Linked DNA regions of Homo sapiens: region 1 is linked to region 2. Evidence: promoter capture Hi-C in 16 types of primary human blood cells and fetal thymus (Javierre and others, 2016). All regions are on one chromosome and are shown on one strand. The core of a region is centred on a gene start or on the middle of the fragment in contact, and the rest is flanking DNA. Distances in the headings are between cores, read along the strand shown.

Region 1 (6,388 bases), core at 3,497-5,996, 380 kb before region 2:
ACGCGTGTGACAAAAGGTAGTCGGAATCATCCAGAGTAGTCTTGTTGGTATCTCCATTTATTAGTGCTCTGTACTTGCCATGTTCCAGGTCTTTGCTCTCACTATTCCCTTTGCCTGAAATGCCCTGGTTCCCAATCTCTGCATGTCAAATACCATCTGTCCTCCAAGGCTCAGCAAATCATACTTCCTTCATTTTAAAGCTCTTTGGTTTTGATGGAACATAGGCAGTGTGAGAAAGAGGAGGGGGAGAAAAGGTCAAGATCCAATCATGGAGGGCCTTGTACAACTAAGGTTTTAGATTTAGATTTTCAGTAGGTTGAATGCTATTCAGGGAGTGACATCGGCAGAGCTGCGCTTTAGGGAAATTAACCAGACAGCCCTATGTGGATGAGAGGGGAAGTGAGAGTGACACTGTGGGGTTAGTGAGAAAGCTTCTGTGATAGGCCAATCAAGAGGCATTGAGGAGTCCTTGCATTTAGGGTAGAGAAGGGAGAGGAGGAGCTGGGAGGGGTGAAGGGGAAGGGACGCTGTCTGTGACTGCTGTAGGAGAACGGGAGTAGAGCATCTCAGAAGTGAACGGAGAAGCGTGTGCTTCAAATTGGGTAGTCAGAAGGATTAAACTATGGCTTCTGGCTGTGAGAGACAGGAGCCAAGGGGCAAACGTAGGCCATGGCCTGACCATGAAAAATCAGCTAATTTTTGTATTTTTAGTAGAGATAGGGCTTAGTCATGTTGCCCAGGCTGGTCTTGAAAGGGAAAGGCAGTGTAGTGCAGTGGTTAGATGCAAGGCTTCTGCAGGTGAACACTCTGGAGTTGATCCTGTCTCTACTATTCACTCTGTTTCACCTTGGAAAAGTCACTTAATTCTTGCCTTAATCTGTGCTTCAGTTTCCTCATGTGAAAAGTGGGCATAATAATTGCATACACTGCCAGGCGCGGTGGCTCACGCCTGTAATCCCAGCACTTTGGGAGGCTGAGGTGGGAGGATCACGAGGTCAGGAGATCGAGACCATCCTGCCTAACACGGTGAAACTCTGTCTCCACTAAAAAATAAAAAAAAAAAATTAGCCGGGCGTGGTGGCAGGCGCCTGTAGTCCCAGCTACTCGGGAGGCTGAGGCAGGAGAATGGCGTGAACCTGGGAGGCAGAGCTTGCAGTGAGCCGAGATCGCGCTACTGCACTCCAGCCCGGGGACAGAGCGAGACTCCCTCTCAAAACAAAACAAAACGAAAACAAAAAAAAAACAAAAACAAAATAATTGCATATACCCTCTATTGTGTATATATATTATATATATACACATACATATATTAATATATAACATATATATTATATTAATATATTATATATATTATATATATAGTGTATATATTATATATACACAATAGAGGGTATATTATATATACACATATATACACACATATATAATATATATGTATTATATATACGTATATATATGTGTATATATTGTGTATATTATGTATATATAATATATATGTGTGTATATATAATATATATGTGTGTATATATGTGTATATATAAAAATATATGTGTGTGTATACGTGTATATATACACGTATATACACATATATATACAATGTATACACACACGTATACAATATACACACACACACATATATATGTGTGAAACCATGTGTGTGTGTGTGTGTATATTGTGTATATATATATATGGTTTCACACAGTGCCTGGCAAGGAAAGTTCTCTATAACTGTTCACTATTATTATCGTGTGTCAAGCTGAGGAGTTCTGACTTTATCCTGTGGGTGACAGGGAGTCACAGACAGAATCCAATGAGAGCATGGCACGATCTGAAAGCAATCTTCTTCTTCTTCACTGAAGGCCAGGTTAGGATCTAAGAATCAGATAAAATCATAAGAAAAAAGAATGTGCTAAATATTGCAGTGAGGTCTGAGGAGAAGAGAGAGGAAGCCTTGGGAATTGTCTGCTAATAGGTCCTTGGTGAGCTGTGAGAGAGTTTCCAGAGAGTGATGGGAATGGAAGGTGAAGTGCAAGGAGCTCGTGGGTGGCAAGAAAATAGAGGGCCTGTGCTTGCCCTTTGAATATTTTGGCCATATGGGGAAGAGAGAGGATGGTTATTAAAGGGGTGGCAGGTTAGGATGGTCTTAGGGAGGATGAAAGGCAGAAGAAAGAGGATAGAAGACAATACAGAGAAATTTAGAGCAGAGGTAGCCTCACTGGGCCCTGGAACCCCCTGAGATGACAGGCAAAATGTTGTGGGTAGGAATTAGAGTGTCCAGGTTGAGCAGATCTGGATTTTGGCAGGGAAGCAACGTGTATGCTCATCTGTGGAAGGAGAGCTAGGTAAACATGAGGTTGGGAAATTTTGAAGGCTAGTAAAGATTTGGAACAGGTGTTGTTGCGAAATAATAAGGGAGGAGTCAAATGGAGGCAAACAGAAGGTTTGCCTTATATTGGCGGTGGGCGGGGGGGAGGGGGCGCAGCTGAGATAGGATAACATTGATTTGTTGTATAAAAGTTTGTTTTCTGGTCTTTCTCTAGCACCACTTGGCAGCTGGCAGCTAGAGAACATGGATGGTAAAGGCTTTGGGGTGCTAGTGAAGCACCCCTAAAATGGCCAACTATGAGACCTGTGCTGAATAAGGAGGCAAATGAAACTGTGAGAGGATTGCAGTAATAGAGAGAGACTGAGGAAAAGGAAGGCAGAGCAGGAAGAAAGAAGTAGAGGGGAGTGGGGGGAGGGGAAGAGCCCCAAAGATAGGATGGGGCTGTGCAGAGAGGGCAGTTTCAGCTTTTCAAGGTTTTTTTTTTTTTTTTTGAGGCAGAGTCTCACTCTGTCACTTAAGCTGGAGTGCAGTGGCGTGATCTTGGCTTACTGCAACCTCTGCCTCCCAGGTTTAAGCGATTCTTGTGCCTCCGCCTCCCAAGTAGCTGGGACTACAGGCACTGCCACCACACTCAGCTAATTTTTGTATTTTTAGTAGAGATGGGGCTTAGTCATGTTGCCCAGGCTGGTCTCGAACTCCTGACCTCAGGTGATCTGCCTGCCTCAGCTTCCCAAAGTGCTGGGATTACAGGCGTGAGCCACCGTGCCTGGCCTAGCTTTTCAAGATCTTTGTGGGAGAGTAGCTTCAAGCAATGATGAAGCCCAAGATGGGGATCAGACCTGAAATAAACAGTGGAAGTTCTTAACCTATGCATGTGTGATTATGAAGGTGTTTTCTAGGCTCGACCTCAAAACTCATTAAATAAAATTAACCAGATAGCATAGTGTAGATGAGAAAGGAAGAGACTGACAATATGATGTAAGAAAGCTGAATTCTTATTTACCATAGCAGGAAGTTAATTGAGAATGTCAAAAATTGGTAAATCAAGAAATAGCAGCTTAAGTACTGTGTATAAATAATTTGAGTCAAAGGCAAAAACGTAAAGTAATTGCACAGCTTTTGCAGATGAATGGTTTGTAAAAGCAAGCAGGCCACGCCACTTCGGGTATTTGGACATTTGAAATATTCGAGGCACATTCAGGTTTGGCCTAGGGTTTGGGATTCCGCCAGGTGTATCTCTTCTGCAGGTCTTCTTGCTGCTAGGCATGCGATGGCTGAATAGTAATGCCCGGGGAAACTGTGAGGGCCAAGCTTCTCTCTAATGGGGGAAATACGTTTTCATCTTTGACTGGCAACAGAAAATTACCTTTTAGTCAATAAACAGTCAGGTTGAAGCTCTCTGTGTTACTGTAGTGCACCAGGGAATGCCACTTAGGCAGAACAGAGGCAGCTGGCTAGAGAACACAGAGCTCTCAGATTGGAGAGAGGCAAAGGGCTTCAGAGAAGGAAGGAGAGAGACAGAGGGAAGAGGGGAAAAGGAGAGAAAGAGAAGATGGTGGGGGAGGGAGGAGCAATATATGCCTCTCTCCACTGTTTTCTCCCTTTCACTGTCTCCTTCCACTTTACTTGCCTACACCCTAAGTTGCCCTCTCGCTACTTACTGCCTTCTCTCCTCTCCTTCCCAGACCAGGCTTTTGAAAAAGAGTCTCCACTCGGCTCCACTTCCTGCCCTCCAATTCATGCAGCAGCCCACTGAAGATTGGCTTCTGTGCCCTTCACTGTCTGAGTCTTCCCGTTAAGAGCACCAGTGCCCTCCTATTACCCAGCAGACCTCCTGGTTGCATTGCTGATCCTCATTAAGCCCCCCTTTCCTTGGCTTTCATCAGCTTGCTTTTTCCTACTTCTCTGGCTCATTCTCCCTGCTTTTTTTCTCTCAATTTTTTATCAGGATATTTTTACTTAGTATAACTTAATTTATCTAACATTTATTAAGTATCTGCTATGTGCCATTCACTGGGCCAGGTGCAGACTAATATGTAACCTGGGCTCTCAAGGGCCTTATAGTCTAAAAATGGGGAAGAGCAGTGCAATGAAGTACAGCAGGCATCATGATAAACCCAGGCCACAATGGGGACACTAAGGAGGGTATAGTCAATTCTGTTAGACCATGGGGCAGGTTAAATCAGGGCAGGAAAGTCTCTTGCCTGGACCATTTTTTGTCCCCTCTGTCTAGTACTGTATGTAATCTCTCAGTGCTCACCTATGAAACAGTGTGGCAGCCATTGAGGTGCATTGCTCAGATCACTCAAGAAAATCTGCTATGAGGAGTGAGGTTGACTTCCAGCCTCCAGTTGTGGCACCCTCCGATCTGCTGTGGTATTTACACTGAGGCACGCTCCTCTTGGGCACTGGTCAGCCAATGACCAGAAGGATGGCAGTACTGGAGCTGGACCAGTTCAGCCCAGTGTGGAACTTCTCCAGTGGCAGTCTTTGCTCAGGCTCATGGGCCTGGCTGAGACTTTCTTGGGGCTCTACTACAGTCTAAAGCTCTTCCTATCTTCTCCTCCTTCTGTTCCCCTCTCCTTCCCGAGGTGTCAGATCTGCATTACCACCTATTCCTGTGCCTTCCCCCTTTGTCCTCTGAGGGTGTTTCCCCCATAATCTCTTGCATGTCTAATTTTGTCTTGGTATCTGAACTGACACAGAGGAATAATGATGGGACCTGTCTTGTAGGGTTCTTGTGAGAATTCAAAAAGTTAATATATGTGACATCTTAGAACAGAGCCTGATACACAGCAAGTGCTCGGCAAGGGTTGCAATTTTTTTTTTTTTTTTTTTTTTTTGAGATGGGCAGAATCTCGCTCTGTCACCCAGGCTGGAATGCAATGGCATGATCTCGGCTCACTGCAACCTCCACCTCCCGGGTTCAAGCGATTCTCCTGCCTCAGCCTCCCAAGTAGCTGGGATTACAGGCGCCCACAATCATGCCTGGCTAATTTTTGTATTTTTGTAGAGATGCGGTTTCGCCATGTTGACCAGGCTGATCTCAAACTCCTGACCTCAGGTGATCTGCCTGCCTTGGCCTCCCAACATGCTGAGATTACAGGCATGTGCCAGTGTGCCTGGCCTAGCTATTATTTTTTAATTATCCTTTTGATATGGTTTGGCTTTGTGTCGCTACCCAAATCATATCTTGAATTGTAATTCCTAGGTGTTTAGGGAGGAACCTGGTGGGAGGTGATTGGATCATGGGGGTGGTTTCCCCCATGTTGAGTTCTCATGAGAGCTGATGGTTTTATAAGCGTTTGGTAGTTCCTCTCTTGCTTGCTTTTGCTTTCCTGCCATCATGTGTTTGCTTCCCCTTCTACCATGATTGTAATTTTCCTGAGACCTCCCCAGCCATGTGGAACTGTGAATCAATTAAACCTCTTTTCTTTATAAATTACCCAGTCTCGGGTGGTATCTTTATAGCTGTGTGAAAACGGACTAGTACACCTGTAGATCTCAACTTATATTTTATTCTCTCTAGGAAGCTTCTCAGACCTCTCTAAACTGCCTTAGAAGCCTCTCCTGAGTGTTCCAGCAGCCTCCTGTTTTTACTTCTGTTATAATGCATTGTTGTCAGTCTTCATAATGAGACTGTGAATTCAATGAAAAATGGACTATGTATTGTTCACTCTTGTGTATCAGTGCCTAACACTGTGTCTGACTCAAGTAGTTGTTGAATTAATGTTTGCTGAATGAAAGTGATGATTAGGCTGAGACTTAAAAGATGAGTGTTATGGCTGGGTGTGGTGGCTCATGCCTGTAATCCCAGCATTTTGGGAGGCCAAGGTGGGTGGATCACCTGAGGTCAGGAGTTCACGACTAGCCTGGCCAACATGGTAAAAAACTCTCTCCCTACTAAAAATACAAAATTAGCCCGGCTTGGTGGCACGTGCCTGTAATCCCAGCTACTCGGGAGGCTGAGGCAAGGAGAATCACTTGAACCCAGGAGGCGGAGGTTGCAGTGAGCTGAGATTGCGCCATTGCACTCCAGCCTGGGCAAAAAGAGTGAAACTC
Region 2 (6,964 bases), core at 3,659-6,158:
TATATCCAGAAAAGTTACTCTTTTCTAGGTTTTCCAGAGCAAATGATATTTTCCCCCTCTGTGGAGAAAGGCTGGGCAGGCAGCATGAATGGCTCTCGGGTGGAAGTGGGGAGGAGAAAGAATCGCTGGGGCCTGGCCCCCCATCCCAACTCTTCCTGGCAGGCTTAGTGCCTCTAAACGTCTTAGCATCTTGGGCGGCTCTCTCTCCTAGGTGGGGGTGGAGTGGGAAGCCAGGGTGTGAGGCCGCTGGACAAAGGGGTCTTTGTGGCCAGGCTGCCTGGCCCCACGCAAGGCCATTAACTGGGTCGCTGGTCTGGGGGGGCAACTGCTCTCCCACCTCTCCCCCCTCCTGTCTCATTCCCTTCTGTCTCCCCTGTGGAAGTGGGTCAGTGGCAGGAGAAAGATTAGAAAAGAATCCAGAGGGGACCAGTTTTGCTCCTCCTTCCTGTCCTCTACCTGGGCCTTAGGCCTTCTCTCTGAGGCCTCTAGGGCTCCGGGGATGGGTTAGACAGGTGCTTCCAGGCCAGAGCTGGGATCCTGTGGGGACAGACACGATTCCATGCCCACTTTTCAGCCCCAGCTGAAGCCAACATTGTAATCCCCAGGCAGTGTAGATGAGAGGCATATCAAAGGGATAAGACTCACCATCCCCTCTTCCTGTTGACCCCAACAAAGTGCCAGAACCCCTCTCCATGGGGACAGAGGTAGCCCAGAACATCCAGAACAGAGACATGTGGGTTCTAAGCCATCACTGGCTGTGTGACCTTGGGCTTGTCTTATAGCCTCTCTGGGCTTCAGTTTCTTCACTTGTGAAATATGGTAGATGCTTCCTAAGGCCCTTCTGTCTCTGACACTGCAGCCCTTAGAAGTGGTTTCTGAAGGTTGACTGGGTTTAGGGGAAGGTTGTGGCCTGCGTGGAGCTGCCAGATCTGGCGGCCTGAATATGTGTCTCTCCTGCCCCCACACAGAGCTCCAAGGCAACTGCTCTCGCCTGGGCTGCCAGCACCATTGTGTCCCCACACTCGATGGGCCCACCTGCTACTGCAACAGCAGCTTTCAGCTTCAGGCAGATGGCAAGACCTGCAAAGGTATGTGAGTGCATGTGCCTGTGTGCATGTGTGTGTGCCAGTAGCCAGTTGAGGTGGGCAGGGAGGGGCAGAGAGGGGTAGGGGGCCTGGCTGGAATAAGAAACTAGAAGGAAGGTGCAAGAGAGGGGGTGCCACCACCCCAGGGCATGACTGTGAGCCCTAACCATTTGCTTCCACTAGACTTCTAAAAATTCACCTTAAAATTATAGTTTATATGTAAATTTTTCTGTTGTAAAAAATTAGAGCATTAACAGATAAAACCAAAGTCCCCTTTGACAAATCCCCCTCAATTCCGGTCCCCTTCCCATCTCCCTGGAGTTCAACTCTATTATCAGTTTGCTCTCTCTCTTTCAGGCCCTTTTTTGTGCATTTGTCTCTGGGTATTCACAGAAAATCTAATTGGAAGTACTGCTCAAGAGTACTGCGTGCTCTTTTTTACATAAACAATAGTATACTGTGTATATTATTTTCAATGTTTTTCACTCATCAGTATGTTCCACAATTTTTTTTTCTGTGTTAATATGTAAAGATCTACATCATTCTTTTAGAAACCACTATGACGTATGACTTTTACCACAGTTTACTTGGTCACCTCCCTGTTGATGAGTGAGATGTTCCCAATTTTTCACTGCTACAAGCAATGCAAACTTTTCTGTTTTAAATTTGCCTCCCTCGGGTCTTTGTGCAAATGCCACCTTCTCAGTGAAGCCGTCCCCCGACCCCTCTAAAACTGCATCCCTGCCATCTGCATTCTCTATCCCTGTTCTCTTTTCATTGCACTAGCACCTCTAATGTATACTTTATTTACTTTGTTTCATATGTTATTATAGTAACTATATTTCATTTATTATCTGAATATAAGTTTCATGAGGACAGCAATGTGGGTCTATTTTAAAGTTCACTGATGCACCCCTGGCACCTGACCCATAGTAGGGACTCAATAAATCTTCCCTGCGTGGATGAGTGATATGTACACGAGTGTTTCTCTAGAGTGGATTCCAAGACTGGACTTGCTGGGTGTTAAGGTTTGCACATTTCATGCTGTAATAGATTCTGCCGAACTGTCCTTCAAGGTAGCTGTAAGGATGGACATGTTGATCATGTCTGATGATCACCCACTTCGTTGCCCTTGTCACACTGGAAATGACCACATTCTTGCCCTTTCCTCGGCAGATTTTGATGAGTGCTCAGTGTACGGCACCTGCAGCCAGCTATGCACCAACACAGACGGCTCCTTCATATGTGGCTGTGTTGAAGGATACCTCCTGCAGCCGGATAACCGCTCCTGCAAGGCCAAGAACGGTGGGTGGGGTTGCCTCTGGCCACAGTGCTAACTAAGCCCCCTCAATGCTGTTCCCTGGTGGGTGGTGGCCTGAGAGGTGGTCCTAGAGCCCTGGCTGCACGGACTCTTCTCTTCCCCATTCCCAGAGCCAGTAGACCGGCCCCCTGTGCTGTTGATAGCCAACTCCCAGAACATCTTGGCCACGTACCTGAGTGGGGCCCAGGTGTCTACCATCACACCTACGAGCACGCGGCAGACCACAGCCATGGACTTCAGCTATGCCAACGAGACCGTATGCTGGGTGCATGTTGGGGACAGTGCTGCTCAGACGCAGCTCAAGTGTGCCCGCATGCCTGGCCTAAAGGGCTTCGTGGATGAGCACACCATCAACATCTCCCTCAGTCTGCACCGTGAGTCACCTGCTCTCAGCTTGGAGGGCTGGGGAGGGTAGGGGAGACAGGGAAGGTGGACCCTATCTTGAACAGAGGCCGGGAGTTACACAGGATGGTCCTGTCTGGGGCAGGAGAAGCAGGAGGCTGGATACAATGGTGTGTGTTTGAGGCAGGGGCAGAGCCACCGGCACGCTCCCTCCCAGCTCTCTGAGCAAGTGTCTGGATGGCCCCTGCATTTCTGGCCAAGGGCTGAGGGGGCAGTGAATGGTCAATCTCCAGAGACCAGGGACTGTCCCTTCTCTGAGAGGGGAGTGTTGACTAGACTGCAGAGGGACTTTCCGGTGCAGTGGGAGCCAAGGCTAGGGAAAGAAGGAGCGGAAGCCTGAGGTGCCCTGTTAGGCTGCAGCTGAGGGTAAAGGAGCTGGGGCCCAGCTGCTCTGTCTCCATGGGCCATCGTTTCCCTCGGGGACCATTGCCAATGGACTCTCTGCTGCCATCGGGGGAGGGCAGTACTGAGGTTATTTCTCTGTGGCTTTGTGGCAGTGAATGAGGCTGGGAGAGGAGCGTGAGCCACATGAGATTTTAGAATATCCTGGATGCTTCCATTCAGGCTTCTCCCTAGGCTACACTTTTGCTATCCTAGTTGTGGAAGAAGGGGTGTCACAGAAAGGGGCACGAGCATAGCTGGGTGTAGACCCACTGCCGGGAACAGCCCTGCCCATCTCAGAGGCTGTTACACCAGCAACCTTAAAAGTCAACATCTGGCAGCATCACATTTCCAAAGAAATGCACCACAGGGCTGAGAGGAAGAATCTGGCCTGTGGTTGATCTGACCCCCTAAGGGAGATTAACTTGATCTGTAACTGTTTAGTAAACCAGAATTCCCATCTCTGCCTTGGTTTCCTAATCTGCATAATGGGTTTGAGCTTGTCTGTCTAGATCAGATTAACTGGAGTGAAAGCCAGTGGTAAAGGACAGCACACTTTGAAGTTGAGGATTGTGAACCTTGGGCCTCTCTAGAAGATCTTCAAGTTTCTTTATTTGGTTCTTGTGATGAAAAGAAAGATCCCAGGAGGTTACAAGGGATTCATTCTGGGAGAGAGAAAGGCCCCTCCCCGGGATGGTGGCGAGCAGGGGTTCCTCTGAGAGCCCTCACTCTCCGTGGCCTCAGCGTAAGGTTCACATTTCTGCCTTTGGCTCCTCCAGAGCATCCCTGATAGCGTCCTTGGGCTGCTGCTGTCCACAGCTCACCTGTGATCAGACATGTGTCCTCCTTGGGGTGCTGAGCTGGGGGCTGTCAAGCCTGGTTGGCTGAGCTCTTAACGAGTGGGCGACTCAGGGAACCCCATGGCTGATGGGGTGGGATTGGTGCTAGACCCTCTTGTGCAGCTGCCCTCCCCCTGTTCCTTGTCCACTGACCTACTCAACAGGCCTGTCTGGGCAGACAGCTTGTCAGTTTCCTCCCCAGCCCTGCATCTTGCCATACAGTGGGCTTCTGGGTAGGTGGCTATGGGGTGTCCTGGAGGTAACCTTCTCAACTTCTACTCTGGCCTCATCTCCTTATCTGACTTCCTCCCCAGGAGAAGCTGGTACCCCTCCCTTGGCAAACAGATTTGCCTTGCCTCCCAGTCTGCTAAACTCACTGGGCCTCTCAGGGGCAGAGTCCAGGAGGCTAGAAGAGTCCAAGGGGAAATGCTTGTGGGGTAAATGAGTGGGTTTCTCTCATCCCAGCTTCTGTCCCTTCCTCCCTGCCCTCCCCCTGCTCCACGTCCCTGCCGCCTGAATGTCTGGCTGTCACCCTGAGGATGGTTGTTTTGCTCTCTCCCACAAACTAATTATGGGTCCCAAACTGAGGACGTCAGTGTCTCTCCCCTAGCCCCTCCCCCAGTTTCTGGGTCATCCCCCTCCCCAGGAGATGCTGACTGGCCTGCCCTGGTGTGTAGGGTGGCTGGTCCCAGGCACTCACCTGCACAGTGGCTGCTGGCCTGTAATTAGCTCCCCAAGGAGGACGAAGAAGAAAGGCTGCAGCTTTCCCCTGCTTTCACTCTGCCCTCCAGGGCAGCCCTCCCTGCAAGCCTTCCATTCTGTGCTGTGACTGTGACCTCTGTTGGACCCCTGGGGCTGAGCCTCATGCAGCAGGGGTGCACACAGAGGGAGGAGTCTGACAATTGAGGGGTGTTCGAGCCAGCGAGGCCAGCCCGCTGGTGCAGGCAGAAGGGGGAGCCTGCCCCAGAGAAAACTCTGGAAGCAGAAATAGAATAGAAAGAAGGAAGGAGGCCAGGAAATGAGCCTGGTTCACATGTGTCCTGGGCCATGTGAGTCAGACCTGTTGTGGAGTCCTGAGAGCCCCCGAGGGCCCCCCTGAGGCCCTGCAGTGTGTGAACATTCCTCTTCAATGCCCCAGGGCTGCTGACCCTCCTGCCTCAGGCCCAGTGTTATCCCCCTGGATTGGGTGGGTCATCTCTTTTCCTCCCACCTGAGATTACCTCCCCCTCCCCTCTGCCGCTGGCCCAGTGGTTTGGGGAGGTCTATGAGGCTCGAATTCCAAGACCAGAGAACTCCATGGTGAGAGCCGGAAGAGAAGGCAAGACCCTTGGCCAGTACCAAGAGCAGCCCTGGCTTTCACTACTGCTTTCTCAAAGGGGCTATGCATTGATTTGATTTTAGATGGTACCTGGACAAGCTTTTTTTTTTTTTTTTTAACTGTTATAGTTACGTTTTTATTTGATATGCATTAGGAAACTCCTGTAACTAGCACATCAAATCTGTTACTTCAGCAATTGTTTAGCATGCAGCGAAATAAGAAAAGTAAGTTAATTGAAATAACTGGTAATAAACAGTAGCGCAAGCTGTACATAAGCATGGTAGACATTTTGAAAGTGATACACAAAAGACTAAAGTTCTGAAAATTGAGGCCCAGAGGGATCAACAGGCCTGATAGTCCCTTAGTCAGGAACCAGGCCTGCGCACTCTCACCCCCACCTCTGACCAGTCTCTCAGCTCCAGAGGCCTATGGAGCCTGTAACCCAGCTTTGTCCAGCCTCCTGCCAGGCTGCCCCTGGGCAGGCCTGGTGGTGCAGTCTACCGACCCCAGCCCAGCCCTGCATTTCCTAAGCTGAGCTCCTCTGATCTGTATTCCCTTCACCTTGGAGGATGCCACCACTGTAGAAAGAATGAGGCAGACTGCAAGATTGGGGTCCTGGGAACATGGGTGTGTATGGTGAGGGGAGGTTCTGAGGTTGTAAATAGAGGCCTTGAAGGAAATCGGGTTTGCTGAAGTCACTCAGGAGTTTGGACTGTGTGTGAAAGGATGGTCTGAAGGGGCTCTCAGAGGTCTCAGGGTTCCCCTCCCTGCACCATGCTGCATGGGGAAGAAGGAGGTGGCTGGGGAGCTCAGCAAAGGGCCCCTAGGCTGCAGGCAGCAAGGTTGCGAAATGGGTCCCAGGTCCAGCTGGCCAACTTCACTTTTCCCTTCCTCTCCCTTTCTTTTATTTATTTATTTTTTTAGTGTGTGTGTTTTCGAAATCACAACAGGAAATGGGGTAGTGATTTGTCTAGAGGGGAGGCAAAGAAGGGGCAGACAGCAGTCCCTCTGAGTCTAATGAACTGGCTGCTGCTGCTGGAAGGGGTGCTACCTCCCCACTGTGCTGGGCACCCCTGGACCCTCTCAGCCTCCCACCCTGCCTACAAAGCACTTCCAGACTTCACATGTGAAAGCTAACCATGCCCATCCTTGGCCTTTCTGACCCATGGGATGCCAGGCTGTTTGGGGAGGGGTGGCTCTAGCCACCCCACTCTTTGGCCTTAGGCCCCCTGCATCCTGGCACTTTTGCTTCCCATTCCTGTTCTGAGTTTCCTAATCATTTAACAGCTCACTCTTGCTCCTCCTCTCTCCTGGCCCGGGCCAGCCCTGTGTCTCCCGGCCCAGATCCAGCCCTGTCCTCTCCTCCCCCGCTGTCTCCTTGAAATTGCCTCTCCACCCAGACTGCTCCCAGCACTCCCCTTGCTGTTTTCAAGCCAAAGGAAGTAACTTAAGCAAGAGAGATGTGTTTTAGAGCCCGGCAAGGATTTCTCAATAGAGGGAAGACCCTAAGATGGGCTGAGTGGAATCCAGGCATCATCCCTGGGATCTAGGTCGAAATGCCTCTTGGGGACCTAAGCCAGGCAGGGGAAGGTAGCAGGACATAACCACAGGCTGGAAT

The links. The method cuts DNA at HindIII sites, captures the fragments that hold promoters and counts their contacts. A CHiCAGO score of 5 or more calls a contact.
Region 1: a fragment that was not itself captured here is called in contact with the fragment with the promoter of LRP1-AS in region 2 in 6 of 17 cell types (naive CD4 T cells, erythroblasts, naive B cells and 3 more); the score reaches 6.7 in naive CD4 T cells.

What each region holds. Positions count from the first base shown.
Region 1 is chr12:56,766,304-56,772,691 of GRCh38, forward strand. All of the region lies in intron 1 of HSD17B6 (hydroxysteroid 17-beta dehydrogenase 6), which reads left to right. Among named protein-coding and RNA genes, the nearest start is that of HSD17B6, 6.2 kb to the left of the region's middle. The HindIII fragment of the contact is 2,222 bases long and covers 3,636-5,857 here.
Region 2 is chr12:57,142,711-57,149,674 of GRCh38, forward strand. It overlaps LRP1-AS (LRP1 antisense RNA), which reads right to left and starts at 4,909. Exons shown (of 2, transcript NR_131938.2): 1 at 4,729-4,909; 2 at 1,910-2,373. It overlaps LRP1 (LDL receptor related protein 1), which reads left to right. Exons shown (of 89, transcript NM_002332.3): 4 at 969-1,088; 5 at 2,262-2,390; 6 at 2,517-2,780. RefSeq lists enhancers at 3,523-4,451, 6,309-6,964. The HindIII fragment of the contact is 5,560 bases long and covers 1-5,443 here.